2 separate regions of the Homo sapiens genome follow, and region 2 is linked to region 1. The links are contacts of gene promoters, found by promoter capture Hi-C in human tissues and cell types (Jung and others, 2019). All regions are on one chromosome and are shown on one strand. The core of a region is centred on a gene start or on the middle of the fragment in contact, and the rest is flanking DNA. Distances in the headings are between cores, read along the strand shown. Region 1 holds the start of WLS (Wnt ligand secretion mediator). Region 2 has its middle 75 kb from the start of RPE65.

What was found. The method cuts DNA at HindIII sites, captures the fragments that hold promoters and counts their contacts. A contact is called where the count stands out against the background at its distance.
Region 2: a contact is called between a fragment that was not itself captured here and the fragment with the promoter of WLS in region 1, in 1 of the 25 tissues and cell types used here (H1 embryonic stem cells).

Annotation. Positions count from the first base shown.
Region 1 is chr1:68,229,255-68,237,114 of GRCh38, reverse strand. It overlaps WLS (Wnt ligand secretion mediator), which reads left to right and starts at 4,592. Exons shown (of 12, transcript NM_024911.7): 1 at 4,592-4,921. The coding sequence starts at 4,816. The HindIII fragment of the contact is 13,703 bases long and covers 1-7,806 here.
Region 2 is chr1:68,370,981-68,378,840 of GRCh38, reverse strand. It overlaps the pseudogene ELOCP18. Among named protein-coding and RNA genes, the nearest start is that of RPE65, 75 kb to the left of the region's middle. The HindIII fragment of the contact is 3,383 bases long and covers 1,549-4,931 here.

The sequences.
Region 1 (7,860 bases), core at 3,343-5,842:
GATGTATTCAATCTTTTTAGAACTCTACATTACATTTACTGCAATGCCAATAATAATGTGCTGCTCTTGGCTTCCAAAGGAGGCTTTCTCAACTTCAGAATCTAAGCCCTCCTCTGTGCAAGGTGCTGTGCTGGGACTGTGAGGCACACAAAGGCTCAGATCACACTCTCCTTGTGTTGAAGGAATTTGCAAGCCAGTTAGGGTAACAACACATCACATATATAGATACATGTGCAAAATGCAGTCTAGTGTATAGGTGCCAGGTAGGAATATAGTCAGTCAATTATATATAGGAACTGGGGGTGAGGGAGGAGTTATATCTACCTTCAGTTAGATATCCATTTATCCATTCATTCATTCATGAATTCATGCATTCATTCATCTATTCAATACATACGCATGGAACATCACTATGACCTTCCATATCCCAAACACTTTTTTTTTTTTTGAGATGGAATTTTGCCATTGTTGCCCAGGCTGGAGTGCAATGGCGTGATCTCAGCTCACTGCAACCTCCGCCTCCCAGGTTCAAGTGATTCTCCCGCCTCAGCCTCCCGATTACAGGCATGCCTCACCACGCCCGGCTAATTTGTATTTTTAGTAGAGACAGGGTTTCTCCATGTTGGTCAGGCTGGTCTCGAACTCCTGACCTCAGGTAATCCGCCCACCTCAGCCTCCCAAAGTGCTGGGATTACAGGCGTGAGCCACCATGCCCGGCATATCCCAAACACTTTGAATAAAATGATGAATAAATCAGAATACCTAATATAAAGTCTAGTGGAATGGAGTTGAAATGATCAGTTTTTATTGACAGAGTTGGATTTGCCCTTGGATCATTTCAGTCTCTGGGATAATCTACCTAATGACAATGACTCAAAACAAACATTTCCTTGGCAGCTGGAAGTTTTTAGAACAGATGTTTCTATGTTAAAAACCACTGAGTATTGTCAAAGTTCAATTCTAGATGTTGTCCTTATTAACACACTTGTCAAGTAAAGTTAACCACCTAGACTTCTCCTAACATATGCTTCAAACAGTAATCACAATATGATAAAAATTTTAGAGCTGAGCAATAATCAGTCATCAGTTTTACTAGTTTTACTAGTTTTTAAACACAAAATTATTGATTTCCCTTAGTTTCCTAAATATAATAATAAATATTCATATCTTACAAGAATACCATGAAATAGTACTATTATTCCCATTTTACGGAAGGGAAAACTCTTCTGTAAAGAGTGAAGGTTTTACAGAAGCCTCAGAGTTGGTCTGTGAAGCCTCAGAGGTGGTAAGTAACTGCATAATGGCCTATAATCACATGAAACAAGGGGCAGATGGGATCTGGGTTCCAAACCAGATCCAGCTGACTCTAACTGTCATGTTCTTTTCTATTCACCTGTGTTGTCCGCTTGGGAAATAAAGATTCACAGTCACTTTTAATGTTTAAAAAGATGTGATAGAAATTCAATTTTTTTAAAGCAGCCCATGGTGATGAATACTACAGGTGTCTACATCCCACCAAGTTGGGCATTATTGGTAATCTCATGACAGAAGTACTGATTAGCAATTAGAAATATCCCTTTTTAATTAAAATAACTATTTAATAAGTGCTCTTTTAAAGCAGGGGATCATCTTGGTGGAGAACCAGCAACTCATTTACAGATGAGAAAACTGAAACCTAAGGAGTTAGGCTAGTTACTCTGCAGAGATGCATTTCAGAGCAGAGGGGGTGGGGTGTATTGTAGCAGCTCATTAAAAACTAAGTCAAGGAGTTCACTAATCTGAATAAATCACTTCTACCACTCCAGACATTTTTTATGGATCCAGTTTATATTTGAAGTGGACGGGGGCCAGGCGTGGTAGCTCACACCTGTAATCCCAGCACTTTGGGAGCAGAGGTGGGTGGATCACCTGAGGTCAGGAGTTCAAGACCAGCCTAGCCAACATGGCGAAACCCCATTTCTACTAAAAATACAAAAATTAGCTAGATGTGGTGGTGGGCACCTGTAATCCCAGCTACACAGGAGGCTGAGGCAGGAGAATTGCTTGAGCTCAGGAGGCAGAGGTTGCAGTGAGCCAAGATCGTGTCACTGCACTGCAGACTGGGCGACAGAATGAGACTCTGTCTCAAAAACAAACAAACAAATAAATAAACAAAAAACCCACCATTTTTTCTCTACCCTCTTATGCATAGTGCTTGGGGGTCTGTGGACTAAACTGACAAAAGACAGATTAGCAAGGCAAAAGACAAATTTTTGTTCACATATATCAAATGTATGTGGGCATTCATAACCACTCAAGGAGGCAGTTGTTAATAGAATTTGGAGCTTATATTCTATCTTAATAGGAGAAGAAGTGTATTTATGAGAAAACAAATGACTTTTAGGAAAGATAAATGGGCCCTTAGGAGTGCTGGGCTCAGAACATGATACCCCAAGGTATCTGAGTACTTTGAACTGAAGGACATTGGAAGGACAACAATTCTGTCTACTTCATCCTTTCTGATAGTACCTGGTGTTTGCCAAAGTAGAGGTAATTAATTACTATTCAGTGAATAACATTTGGACTGGGGGGGGGTTCCTCTGGGGCAGGTGCAAGTACTTTGACATCTTGGTATCCTTGAGTGCTTAAGAAAGAAAGCCTGGAACATGTTAAAGGCTCAATAAGTGACTTGGATAAAGAGTTGAATGAGAGAATAGATAAACAGCAACCACAGTCATGCATTGCTTAATGATGGGAATACCTTCTGAGAATGTGTTGTTAGGTGATTTGTCATTGTGCAAATGTCATAGAGGGCACTTACATAAACCTAGGTAGCATAGCCTACTACAGACCTAGGCTACACCGTGTAGCTGATTGCTCCTAGACTACAAACCTGTCTGGCATGTTACTGTACTGAACACTGTAGACAACTGTAATGCAATAGTAAGCACTCTGTGTATCTAAACATATCTATAGAAAAGGTGTTGTAAGAATATGGTATTATAACCTTATAGGACTACTGTCACACACACGGTCTGTTGTTGACTGAAACATCCTTATGTGACACATAATGATGTGTATATCCTCAGAACTGTTAAGAACTATTAGATGTTGAAGAGATGGAGTTTTGTATGCATAAAGTTTGGTGCTTGTCCTTGACAAGTCTCTGTTCTATTTGGAGATTAGAAATGAATGCTTCTATTAAGTGTAACCTGCATGACATCTTTTATAAGGGCAATGAAAATTCAGGAACAGAGTAGAGGAGGAGAGAGGACTGGGAAAAATAGTCTCTTGGCATGAAGAGGGTGTGTAAGGATGGGAGGGACAAGAAACAAGATGTGTGGGTGGTGGTGGTAGAAACTGCACGTTTGGGGAGCAGGGTGGGGTATTTACCAAACCAAGGGTCTATTGAGTAAGGTGAGTTGTACTGGCCAAGCGGCCAGTTTATGAAACATGGAAAAACCAGGCCCAGAAATTTAGGCTTGATAGAGCAGGAAATCTCTATCGGGAGCCCCGCCCCTCTTTTTATGGAAGTTAAGTATAAATATAAATATATGATTTCTCACAAAGAGACAACAAACATTGTAACTTAATATAGGTACCCTCTAAACCAACTAAGATCTCTTTAGACCTTTGAAATACAAACTGTGGGCTTGCTTTCACATTCACTTATTCATTCCACAAAAGATTATGGGGCACCTACTAGAGCTAGCATTTTGTTAGGCACCATGGGGGGTACAAAGAACAAAAAAAACTTGGTCCCTATTCCCCAGGAGTTTACAGCTCAGTGGTGGAGACAAACGTGTACACAAATCCTTACAATAGGAGGTAAAAATGTAAATACAGGATTGTAGGGGCTCAGTTCCCAGAGATACTGCATGGAGGTGGTGTGGAAAATTAGAAAGATTTTTTAACACTAGTTGGTTTTGGATCAGGTTTAACATTGATGGAGTAGAACATGTTCTCTTTAAGGCAATAACCAGGGTTAAGGCTGTGGAAGCACATGTGCTGGAGTAACGAACAGTGGTCTGATTTGGCTGGAGAGCAAGTTTCCTCAAGGGGCGCCGTGGGGAATTTAGCTGGGTATGTGCCCAATAACCGAGGCTGGGAATCTGGTAGAAAGAAGTCGAGCTGAGACTTTATTCCGCATCTCTGTGTTTTGACTTAGGCATCTATTGGGTCCTTTTAAAAAAAATTCTCCTCCTCTTTCCTAAAGAGAGTTCTAGCAGTTGGGGGTGGGGTGGGGACCATTTCCTAAAGTCAACGCGTAAGTTAAAGGTCTGCAAGGCGGTCCACCGGTGATTTAAATCTCGCACTTCGGAAACCAGAAAAGGAAACCTGTGAGAAGCTGGGCAGGGGGAACCCGCTTAACATCAACAGCAACCCCTAAATGGCATCAGACCTTGGAGAGACAGGTTGCAGGCCAGACTCGGGAGCCAGGCGCCAGCACCCGCCAGAGCTCTGAGCCCCGAACTGGTGGGCAAGGGGTAGAGGAAGAGAGGGAGGGAGGGAGGGAGGAAGCGCGAGAGGGAGGGAGGAAGAAAGGGAGGGAGGCGGCGTCATGTGATCCGCTTCCCTGCTCCTTTAAGCGTCCACAGGCGGCGGAGCGGCCACAATCACAGCTCCGGGCATTGGGGGAACCCGAGCCGGCTGCGCCGGGGGAATCCGTGCGGGCGCCTTCCGTCCCGGTCCCATCCTCGCCGCGCTCCAGCACCTCTGAAGTTTTGCAGCGCCCAGAAAGGAGGCGAGGAAGGAGGGAGTGTGTGAGAGGAGGGAGCAAAAAGCTCACCCTAAAACATTTATTTCAAGGAGAAAAGAAAAAGGGGGGGCGCAAAAATGGCTGGGGCAATTATAGAAAACATGAGCACCAAGAAGCTGTGCATTGTTGGTGGGATTCTGCTCGTGTTCCAAATCATCGCCTTTCTGGTGGGAGGCTTGATTGGTAAGTGCGGAGAGCTGCAAACTTTTCCCCCTTTCTGTCTTTTCGGGCCCCTTCCCTCTTTGCCTCTTGGGCTACTTGTTACAGTATCACTGCCTTGCTTCTATGATCTAATTAGTCCGGCTATTGTGCTTAAGAAAGCAGAGCTCCATGGGGCTCCGTGGGGCACAATCCAGTCTAGTGGCTAAGAGAAAAGGAGGGGAAAAAGTTTTGGCCTAGTTTCAGTATCCACTTGAAAGGCAAGAGGGGGGCGGCGGGGGTGGGAATCTTAAGCATGGCGACGGATCGCGCGAGGAAGCGCTGGGTTACAAAGTTGATTGCTCGCCCCCCCCCCCCCCCGCTTTTTCCCGCGTTCCCCCCCTTTTCCTCTCGGTTCCCTTCCAATCAGCTCCGGGAGGGCAACGTAATCGACTTTATTAGGAACAACAGAAGAGTCGGGGAACTGTGCCCGGCGCAAACCCGGAGCTCTGTTACAAGGCTGAGATACTTGCACGGTTGTAAATGCATTTGGTCGTCTTTGCTAGGGGCTGAGGGTTTGCAATTTGGGGTCCCGACCTTCGCGCCCTCTGCTTTCCCGCCGCACTCCACCCCACGCTCTGCCGTGGACAGGTCCGAATTGTCGGCCGGGAGGTTGGGTGGGATGGGGTGGGGTGGGAGGGAGTCCTTGACCAGCGCCGCGGGAAGTTGGAGAGGTCGGAGGGGAAAAGCGTATCCGAAAGGTGTTGCTTTTGGCCTCCTGCCCACTCGTGAATATCCCTTCCCCCACTACTTAGAGCCCCGAGAGCCGGTGACTGTGAATGTCCCCGTCCTCTTTTGGCGCTTAGGAGAGCGCCCTCAGCTCCCACCACAGCCCCCCGCAGGTGACAGCTCGCCGGCCTCCTCGGCGACAGCGCCCGCCCCGGGAGACCTCCCCTGGCGTGCACCTCCCGGACCTCTCTGAGTCAAACAGGCTTCCGGGTGAAGAAAACCGCCTCACGGACCGTCCACTCGGAAAAACTCCCTTCCCCTCACTGTCTCCCCATCTGCATCCATCCTCCCGCCTCTCTGCACACTCGCGCCCCCCGCCCCCTCAAGATTTGGGACATCCCGGCACAAACTTCAATGCCAACTTTGCAGCGGGCGCGGACGGGAGGTTCGGTTTCCTTACTTCACGGCTTTGTTAAACTTTGCGGAGTGGGGAGTCCACGGAGGGGCTTTCTCCGCGCGTGCCTTTACGGGCGCCCACGCGATGTGGGGTGCGGGGAAAACGCCCGGGGGCGCCGGCGGCGTCGCTGCCAGAGCTGCACAGGCTTGGGCACCTCCAGTCGTGTGCTTGGCGTTTTGTCTCCAGACTTGGGTTTGATGGGAACAAATTAAAGGGAGTTTGGTACTGTAAATCACGGTAACATCCAAGCCAATTGTCTTAAACAAAGGAGAGTGGGTGAAGCTTCATCAAGGAGAGAAATACCTAAAGGAGACAGTGCTCTTTTCTCTGTGTGCATTTATCCACAAAACAGAAAAGGGTTCAGAGTTTTCAAACAATCTCTTATCCCCAGTGTGGGCCAAACAGCTTCACATTTTCTTTCTGGAACCCTCACCCTCAACACACACACACACACACACACACACGCGCGCACACACACACACGGGTTGGCTTTTGTGTTAGGAGCTTCTGTTTGGCTACATGCAATCTCGTTTCCCCGTATTGGATTTTTCGAGGCTCTTAATACCTTCTCTGCTGGGAGCTGAAGGCAGCCTTCCCTGTGCCCTCACAGTGATTATGCAGCGGTTACAATTACACCTCTTGTCTCCCTTGATGAGCAGTTGCAGTTAGATGCCATTGGATCTTGTGTGATTTCAGTGGCAGACCATAATTAAAATTTCTTGCACCTTGTGCTTTCAGAATTAAATTGGCCTATTATCCCTGTCTGACCTTCATCCTCTTTGAGGTTTTTGCACAAGCAGCAAACCATTACACATAGTTTCCTGGTGTTTGTTGGTGTGTTTCTTTTTCTAGGCTGATCTCCTAGCTTTGCAGACAGAGCCCATTATCCAAGAAGTAGGCTTCCTAGGGCACTTCTGAAACTAGTAGGATTTCTGGGATGCTACCACCAAGGAGAAGCCCTAAGGGCACTCGTGAGTGGCTGGTGGACATTGGAGCGACTATAGGGTCAGAACACTTGTCTGTTCCAAACAGGGTTTGTCTGGAGTAAGTGGTGCCAAAGATTGTTTTTCCCGAAGAATTTGGTTAATGACGACAACCTCAAAAAGTCCGCGGCAGGTGCTAACTGTAACTAGCTTCCCCTCAATTAATAAACTGCTTTATTCCAATTTCCTTGAAAAATATCTATGTATAACACTTCTTGGAGGAAACTGTATAAGTTTACTGCTTACCTCTCCTTCCTCAATTGCAAAGGCTGTGTCTCCAATTCAGATCAGATCTAGCCCATGTTGAACAGTGACTTAGCCTTTCCTCTTTCACTTAAACAGTAATTTTTTTTTGCTCTTAAATCTAAAATTTGGGTAGGACCCAAATATGGGAAATAAATATCAACAAAATGTAAGTGAAAAATTTTCCCACCAAACTTCCCTAAGCTGGAAAACAAAGGAAACTAAGGAAAGAATAGCAACAAAGTGGGCAAGCGGAGACAGTAGTTGAAGGAACAGTTTGTAGGCTGGAAGTCAAGGTAAAGTTCAGAAACCTCCTCTGCTCTCTCGAGTGAGAAGAGAACTCCTCCGCTGCTCATTGTTATTGCCACTTAAAAAGTCAGTTGTCCTGGGTGTGAAGTGTCTCTCTAATATATCTGCAGTAGGCCAAGTGAGAAAAAGAAATGTCCCCTTTGAACTGGCCAGAATATATTTTTCTTTTTGATCACTCTTTTTGCTGATGAAAGTAAACTTAGGAAGAGCAACTTAGGAAGGGGAGAATATAAATGGCAAAGCTCTTGTTTGTAAGGGTGTGA
Region 2 (7,860 bases), core at 1,991-4,490, 140 kb before region 1:
CCAAATTTCCCTCTTCTTATAAGGACACCACTAATTAGATTAAGGCCCACTCTAATCCAGTATGATCTCACCTTAACATGATTACATGTGCAAAAACCCTATTTTTAAACAAGTTCACATTCATAGGTCCAAGGAAGATATGAATTACAGGAAGAAACTATTCAACTCACTGAATGGTCCTTGCCTAAATTTTTCAGAGTTTCACTCCATTAGACAAAAGCCATGAGCACAAACATTTTTGAGATGATCCCTGCTCTGTCTTTGGTTTCTGCTGAGATGACTGAGGGACAACACTCCTAAGCTTCTGAGAGGCCCTCTAGTTTCACTGATGGGATCGGTGAGTCACAACCTTAATATCTTAGAAGAGCCTTTTCTATGACTGAACACTTTAACCTTTTAGTCTTCCTGAGGCTTCAGTGAAAGCTGGACAGTTGCACAGTCTTTCTTTTCTCTATGCCATACTTTTGGAAGCCATTTCTGACTCTTAGCATTTCTTGCCACCTGGAAAGGTTGAGCAGTCTCAAAATTCTCCAGTCCTAATCCCTTTATGTTTACCAGTTTTTCCCTCCAGTTATTTTTTTTTCCTCACATTTTAGTATAAGTAGTAAGACAGAAATAAGCCAGCACCTTTAACACTTTGCTTGCAAATCTCCTCAGCTATATATCTAAGTTTGTCATTTACAAATTCTGCTTTCCACATAACTGCAGGACACAATTTTTCTAAACTTTCTATCACCACATAGCAAGGATTCTCCTTCCTCCAGTTCCAATAACATGATTCTCACTTCGTTCTGAGTCTTCCCCAACAGTATTCTAAAAGCCCAGATTTCTAATTAAAGTCTGTTCATGATGATTTAGGCTTTCTCCAAGGAAATTTAGGTTTGCTCTATAATGCTCTTCACCTCCTTCTAAGCTCTCACCAGTTGTATCTTTAATATCCATATTTCTACTAACAGTCTGTTTGAGACAATTTAGCCTTTCTCTATCATGTTCCTCAAAATTCTTCTAGCCTCCAGCTACTGCCTAATCCCAAAACCATTTCCACCTTTTAGGTATTAATTACAGCAGTATCAACTTTCAGTATCAAAATCTGCATTAGTCTCTATTGCTGTGTAACTGTCATAAGCTTAGCAGCTGTAAACAATACATATTTATTATCTTACATTTTTCATGGGTCAGGAGTTTGGCACATGTTAACTGGGTCCTCTGCTTAGGGTCAGTCACAAAGGCTGAAATCCAGATGTTGGCCAAGCTGGAGGTACTGTATAGGATTTGCTTCCAAGTTCAGTCAGGCTGTTGGGCAGAATACAGTTCTTTTTGTTTGTAGGACTGAGATTTCCATTTGCTTGCTGACTATTGGCTAGGGGTCACTCTCCTCTCCTAGAGGTCACTCACATTTCTTAACTTACGGCTCCTCCCATCTTCCAGCAAGCAATGGCATTTTGAGTGCTTCTCATGATTTGAATCTCTGACTTCTTCTGCTTCTCCAACTAGCCAAAGAAACCTCTCTGCTTTTAAAGAATTCATGTGATTAGATTAGGCTTACCCAGATAATCTCCTTATCGTAGGGTCAACTGATCAGTAACTTGATTACCTCTGTAAAATTCTTTTTGCCAAGTAACAACATAATCACAGGAATAACTAGAGGGTAGAGATCATGGAGGGCTAGCTTAGAATTATGATTATCACACATTCTTACACCAAAAATACCCTAGGAATATACTAATAGTGGCAACTATGCGTTTTCATTTCTTTCTGCATTTTTATGTTGTATAATTTTTAAAATCATATAACTGCAATGAGGAAAAATGCAGAACTATATTATTATGAGTATAGTTCAAATCATAGTGGCTTTACAGAATCTTGGAGCTATCTGCTTGCCCATTTGCAGTGACTACAACTGCATGAAGTACTGATTACAAAAGATAGAATCATTCATTTTTAGAAAGCTAGTTTTGTTACACTGCAAGCTTTTTCTACAAGCACACACATTTCTAATAAAATAAATTTATTGTTAATGATGAGGTTTGAAAATAGGTGATATAAAGGTATGCCTAGCTTCTTACTCTATCTGCTTCTACAGCAAAAGAAGTCAAAATGCTGAGGGCCAATGAGCTGCATAACTAACTAGCTGCTTCCAGCTGAAACAGCAGATCAGGATTGTATAATGCTATTGAATTTCAACTTTTTCACTCAGGCACCAAATGTTTACTGAGCTCCCACTATACACAGAGCACTTGGGTACAGAGATACAGATGGCACCACCCTGAACCCAAGTGAAGAGCTCAAAATTTCTCATTTTGCCCAGCAGACAAGTTTCTTATTTAAGTGAGTCAAAATTATACTTTAAATATTAACTGTCAGATTTCAGAGGGCATTTCAGATATCCTAAAAATATTTTGATAATTAAACAAGAAGAAAACCTGTATTCCAAACAATGTTTATTCCCTGCGTCCTAAAAAAACCTATGTTTAAAAAAAAAGAATGAGGCAAATTGAAATTTTCCTTTCAACATGACCCTTGATCAGACATTCTTTTGGCTATTTTGACAAGAAAGAATCAGTCAAAGCCTGGTCACATTCCTTTAAGGTCACAGCTCTTTGTCATCATCATCTCTTCTTTTGGCAATGTACAGTAGTTACTTCCAAATGCCAATTACTTTGAAAAGATCTTGGCTTAACCTTAGTCTAACCCAGCCAACCCTCCAAGTCAGCCCAGCAGCAATGCTGGCAGACCTTGGAAAAATGGAACACTGGGCTGTTCATGGGCTGTTTCCATGGAGAACATCACATTTCATAGGGGAAATACGAGTAGTCACTTGGAAGGCCCACCTCTTCAAGAGTGAAACATTATACCACAGCCTGGTATTTCAACCTATCTTCAAACTTCTTGGCTTAGTGAATTCCTAAACTTTATATTCAGTTGCTGTTTTCCACCTGCTTACAATTCTTGATCCTGCACAGCAACTCTTCTGATCAGAATTGGAGCAAGTGGAGAAGAACTACAAAAGGGACCCAAAGAGGGGCAATGGCCCTGGAACAGGGGCTATGGGGGTGCGTGGGGACCAGGCTGCAGTGGCTGCAGGGCTGATGAGTGAGACTCTGACTGAGGCAGAAGCAGAGCTCCAGGAAACTACTAAAGTTCCAGGGGAAGCAAAGTAGCATTTTATAAGAACAAAATGAATGGAGAGGAGAAAACCTATGGTGGCTGTGAAGGCCCTGAGATGCCATGTATGTCAAATTGATACCATCTGATGGCCATGAATTTATTGTAAAAAGAGAACATGCATTAATATCAGGCATGATAAAAGCCATGTTGAACAGCCCTGGTCAATTTGCCGAGAATGAAACCAATGAGGTCAATTTTAGAGAGATACCTTCGTATGTGCTATCAAAAGTATGCATGTATTTTACTTACAAGGTTCGCTACACTAACAGCTCCACTGAGATTCCCGAATTCCCAATCACACCTGAAATTGCACTAGAACTGCTGGTGGCTGTGAACTTCCTAGATTGTTAAATAAAATAAATTACATTTTGAAAAAAAGGGGCCCGAAGGAAGTCTGTGGGAGCTGAGGAGAGGGAAAGGAAAAGAGCCCAGTCTGACAGGTGGTGTTTCTTTTTGCACTCACCCTTTCTATTCCCCTTCCCCTTTAACCTCTTTCCCCGTTTAACCATCTTTCACTATCTTCCTTCCCTTCCAAGAGATCTTCCCTATGTAGCACCATCAGTTCCCAAAGGCTGCCCAATTATCTCCAGCTTTTTATCCTCTACCTCCGCTAGCCCTACAGATAGTAAACACAGTCATGCTGAGCCTCCGTGCACATCCCTTGGTTAAAAGCTTTCCATTAATTTACTGATCACTATTCATTCATTTATTCAAAAGACATTTACCAAGTGCCTCCTAGGTGTCAGGCCCAGGGCTAGCTGCTGAGGATAAGGAGGGGAACTAGACCGGGTCTCTACCCTCAAGAGATGGAGGAAGCACTCATACACACAAGGGTCTATAATAGTATTACATTACATTTTTATGCAATAAAATGGAGGAAGAGTGGATTCATCTTGATGGTACTAAGGGAGGCCAATTTTTAACTCTGTCCCCTTAAAAAAATTTGATATGCTAAAACAAATAAACTATCAAACACTAACCTGTTCAATCCAATCAGGTATAAGACAGCAAGAATTCCACAAAGATATCCAAGAGATAGGTTGAATTTAAGGCAGGACTGTTTGCCAGGGAAGAATCACAAGTGGAACAAGTATGCTTCGAGAAAAAAGTCTGTGTGCCAGGAGAAATGGGAGCCAAGGTTGTGAAAGAGGTGCACTGCAGGAAGACTCGCGACATACTGGTTATCTTGGTAAATTCTTTGTTCAAAGAGAAGGCAGTATGAAATGAATTTAAGTTCAAAAATATGGAAGGCAAGGTATGCACCAATGCATTTTTTCATTGCTTATCTTGACTAAAAATAACACAGTGTGCTCTCTTTGCAAGTCAATACATAGAACATGGAGACAGAGTTGGAGAGACCATCCGCTTCCCCAACATCCTTGTAAAACATTTGAAAAAACTTGACATTCCCCTGCATTGTTAGGCTGCTCTTTGTAACGGAGTTATAAAAACCCTTTCCATGGAAAGATCTCCCATTCAAACATTTTTTACTGCTAGCAAGCAGAGACACATACTGCCCTACCAACCTAATTCCAAGCTTGAAGGCCATGAGCTTGAGAGACCATTTTTAAAGTTGCATGTTAGAACCTGTAATAGAAATGATAAAAAGAGGGGGAAGCTAGAAATAGCACAGATGCCATAACTGTATAGAAATGTATTCTAATCAAGTCGTCTTAACCCCTGGTGAGGTAGACTCTACAATTGGCAAAGTCTCGTGGGCCCTTCCAATATGCCAATCACAGACCTGTAGGTGTAACCTTCCATATTCCCTGAATTCCAGGGGTCTCCTTTTCCAGAAAGAGAAATTTAAACTCAGGCACAAAAGAGAGGTTGGATAAATCTTTGTTGAATAAGTGACAATTTATAATTTTTATTAGAATAGTAATACAGTAGTAATATCGAGAATGATGTGCCAGATGTTTATTCAATACCAATTCTTCCTTATCTACATTTTATAAATGAAGGGATTTAGGTCATATTATAGCAAAGCTTGGATTAATTTAAGCCAAGTTGGCCCAATTCCCCCCACAATATTGAGTCACCTGATGTTTGTAGTCTAGTGTCAGAGGCCAATGAGGAATTTTATTCGGGAATTTTGTTCGGTGCTTCTGCTATTAAATAAGAAGTGAAAACTAAGGGCGTGAGGTTGAAGCTGGCGGCGCTGCTGGAGCAGGCCAGGGATGTCCAGGAGAAACCGGCAGGGAGGAGGGACTGGGAATGGTGGGTGGGAGGAGTAGTGGTTGGGGGTGAGCCTGGCGGGTGGCACGGAGCCAAAGTCAGGAGAAGGCTGGAGACCGAGGCTCCAAGACCCCCAGCTTCCCGCAGGCGGTGCGGGCGGGGGTTGCGCTGCAAGGATGCTAGCAGTAGGCGCGAGCGTGTGGCTGCTGCTGGTGCCATCGCTCCCCTCTGCTCAGGGCCTTGGGCTGGGGCGGCAGCAAGGTAAGATGAGGATTGAATGAATCATATAAAAATGCAGGGGTTTTGGAGAGTAAAAAGTCAAATATCCCACAATTTCTTTTTTTTTTTTTTTTTTTTTTCTTGAGACGGAGTCTCACTCTGTCGCCCAGACTGGAATGCAGTGGCGCAATCTCAGCTCACTGCAACCTCCGCCTCCCGAGTTTAAGCGATTCTTCTGCCTCAGCCGCCCAAGTAGCTGGGACTACAGGAGCGCGCCACCACGCCTGGCTAGTTTTTGTATTTTTAGTAGAGACAGGGTTTCACCATATTGGCCAGGCTGGTCTCGAACTCCTGACCTCGTGATCTGCCCGCCTTGGCCTTCCAAAGTGCTGGGATTACAGGCATGAGCCACCGCATCTGGCCATATCCGCCATTTCTATGGTTCACGGTAATATAGGTGAAAACTGCTAGCACAGAAGCCTGCCTGAAAGCCTGTTTAACCATAGGCTATGCTGCATTATACTAATGCGAGGGTATAGAATGCAAGCACATTCGGCCTGAGGTCAAAGGAAGTCACAGAAGGCCAAGCCCAAGATCAACCAGTAGGGGGAAGAACATTCTTCCCATGAAGTTAAAGAAAGGGAGTAAGTATTTTTGAACAATAATATAACTTGCAACATTTCCAATTAGAAGACATCTGAGACTGCACTTCCAACCTGGGCTACACTGATTTAGCCTCAATAAACTATAGCATTTCGTCCTCATCAATGTTGGCTAAATCTTTGAAATCAATAAAACAATAATTAAATAAAGAACTATTGTATGTATAAATTTGTTTCTTGCAAGGAACAATTCTGTCTTTGAGAAGCAAATAATCCAAATGAGAAGTAAGGAAATAAACTTATTTCACTTATTTAGATTGAATACACTCAAGTTTTATCTGGAATTTGATGTCTTTTCTATGAAATATTTATATTAGTCCATTTAGTCATGGAGATGTGTATTTTTTTTAATCATTAACCAGGATATTTGTTTGCCAGCTGTAGTTTGTTTAAGGGTTTTGTTTTGTTTTAGACAAGGGTCTTGCTATGTTGTCCAGGCTGGAGTGCAGTGGCTGGCTAGTCACAGGCTTCTTCGTCTTGATTACTCCCAGTTTTGGTGATTATAAATAAAATAATTGTAAATATTTATGTGTGGTGTTTTGTATGAACAGCAGTTTTCAAATCAGTTCGGTAAATACCCAGGTGCACTACTGCTGGATTCTATGGTATCCTTAGTTTTGCAAGAAACTGCCAAAGTGTTTGTACCATTTGGCATTCCCACTAGCAATGAATGAGAATTTCTGTTGCATTCTCACCAGCAATTGGTATTGTCAGCTTTTCAGATTTTGGCCATCCTAATATATATTTTTTCCATGATTTTACTTTCGTCTTATTTGTTGAAATCTTATTTGTATTGATTTCTGCTATTTTGCTATTTGTGTCTATATATATCATGCATTTTTTGTTTCTATGTTTCTCTTTCACTGCCTTTGTTGTACTATGTAAATATTTTCTACTGCACCATTTATATTCATTTGTTGGACACTGTTATGGACTGAATGTTTGTCTCCCCCCAAAATTCATATATTGAAACCCTAGCCCTGGATGTGATAGCATGTGGAGGTGGGACCTTTGAAAGGTAATTAGGTTTAGATTAGATCATGAGGGTGGAACCCCCATGATGGGATTAGTGTTCTTATAAAAAGAGGAAGAGAGACCAGAGCTTTCTCACTGGCATGTAAGGACCCTGTCCATAAGTTGCTGTCTATCGACCAGGAGGAGGGCCCTTGCCAGAAACCAAGTCAGCCAACACGTTAATCTTATAATTCCCAGCCTCCAGAACTGTGAGAAATAAATATCTATTGTTTAGACCACCTAGTCTATGGTATTTTATTATGGTCACCTGAGCAGACTGATACAGATGCCTTTTACTATATATATTTTAGTTCTTTTCAGCCATTATTTCTTAAATATATTTTCTTCACTTTTTTTTCTTTTCTCTACTTCTGGGACACTGACACTGGGTCACTTGATGATGTTCCTCAATCTCTGAGACTCTTCTTTTTTCTTCATTGTTTTTTCTGTAATTCCTTATAATTCTTGATCCATCATTGATTTCACTCATTTGTTTTATTCTGCCAGCTGAACTCTGCTATTGAAACCCTGTAATGAATTTCTTATTTTAATTACTGTACTTTTCAACTTCAGAATTTCTATTCCATTTTAAAAATAATCTTCATCTCTTGATTTGTAT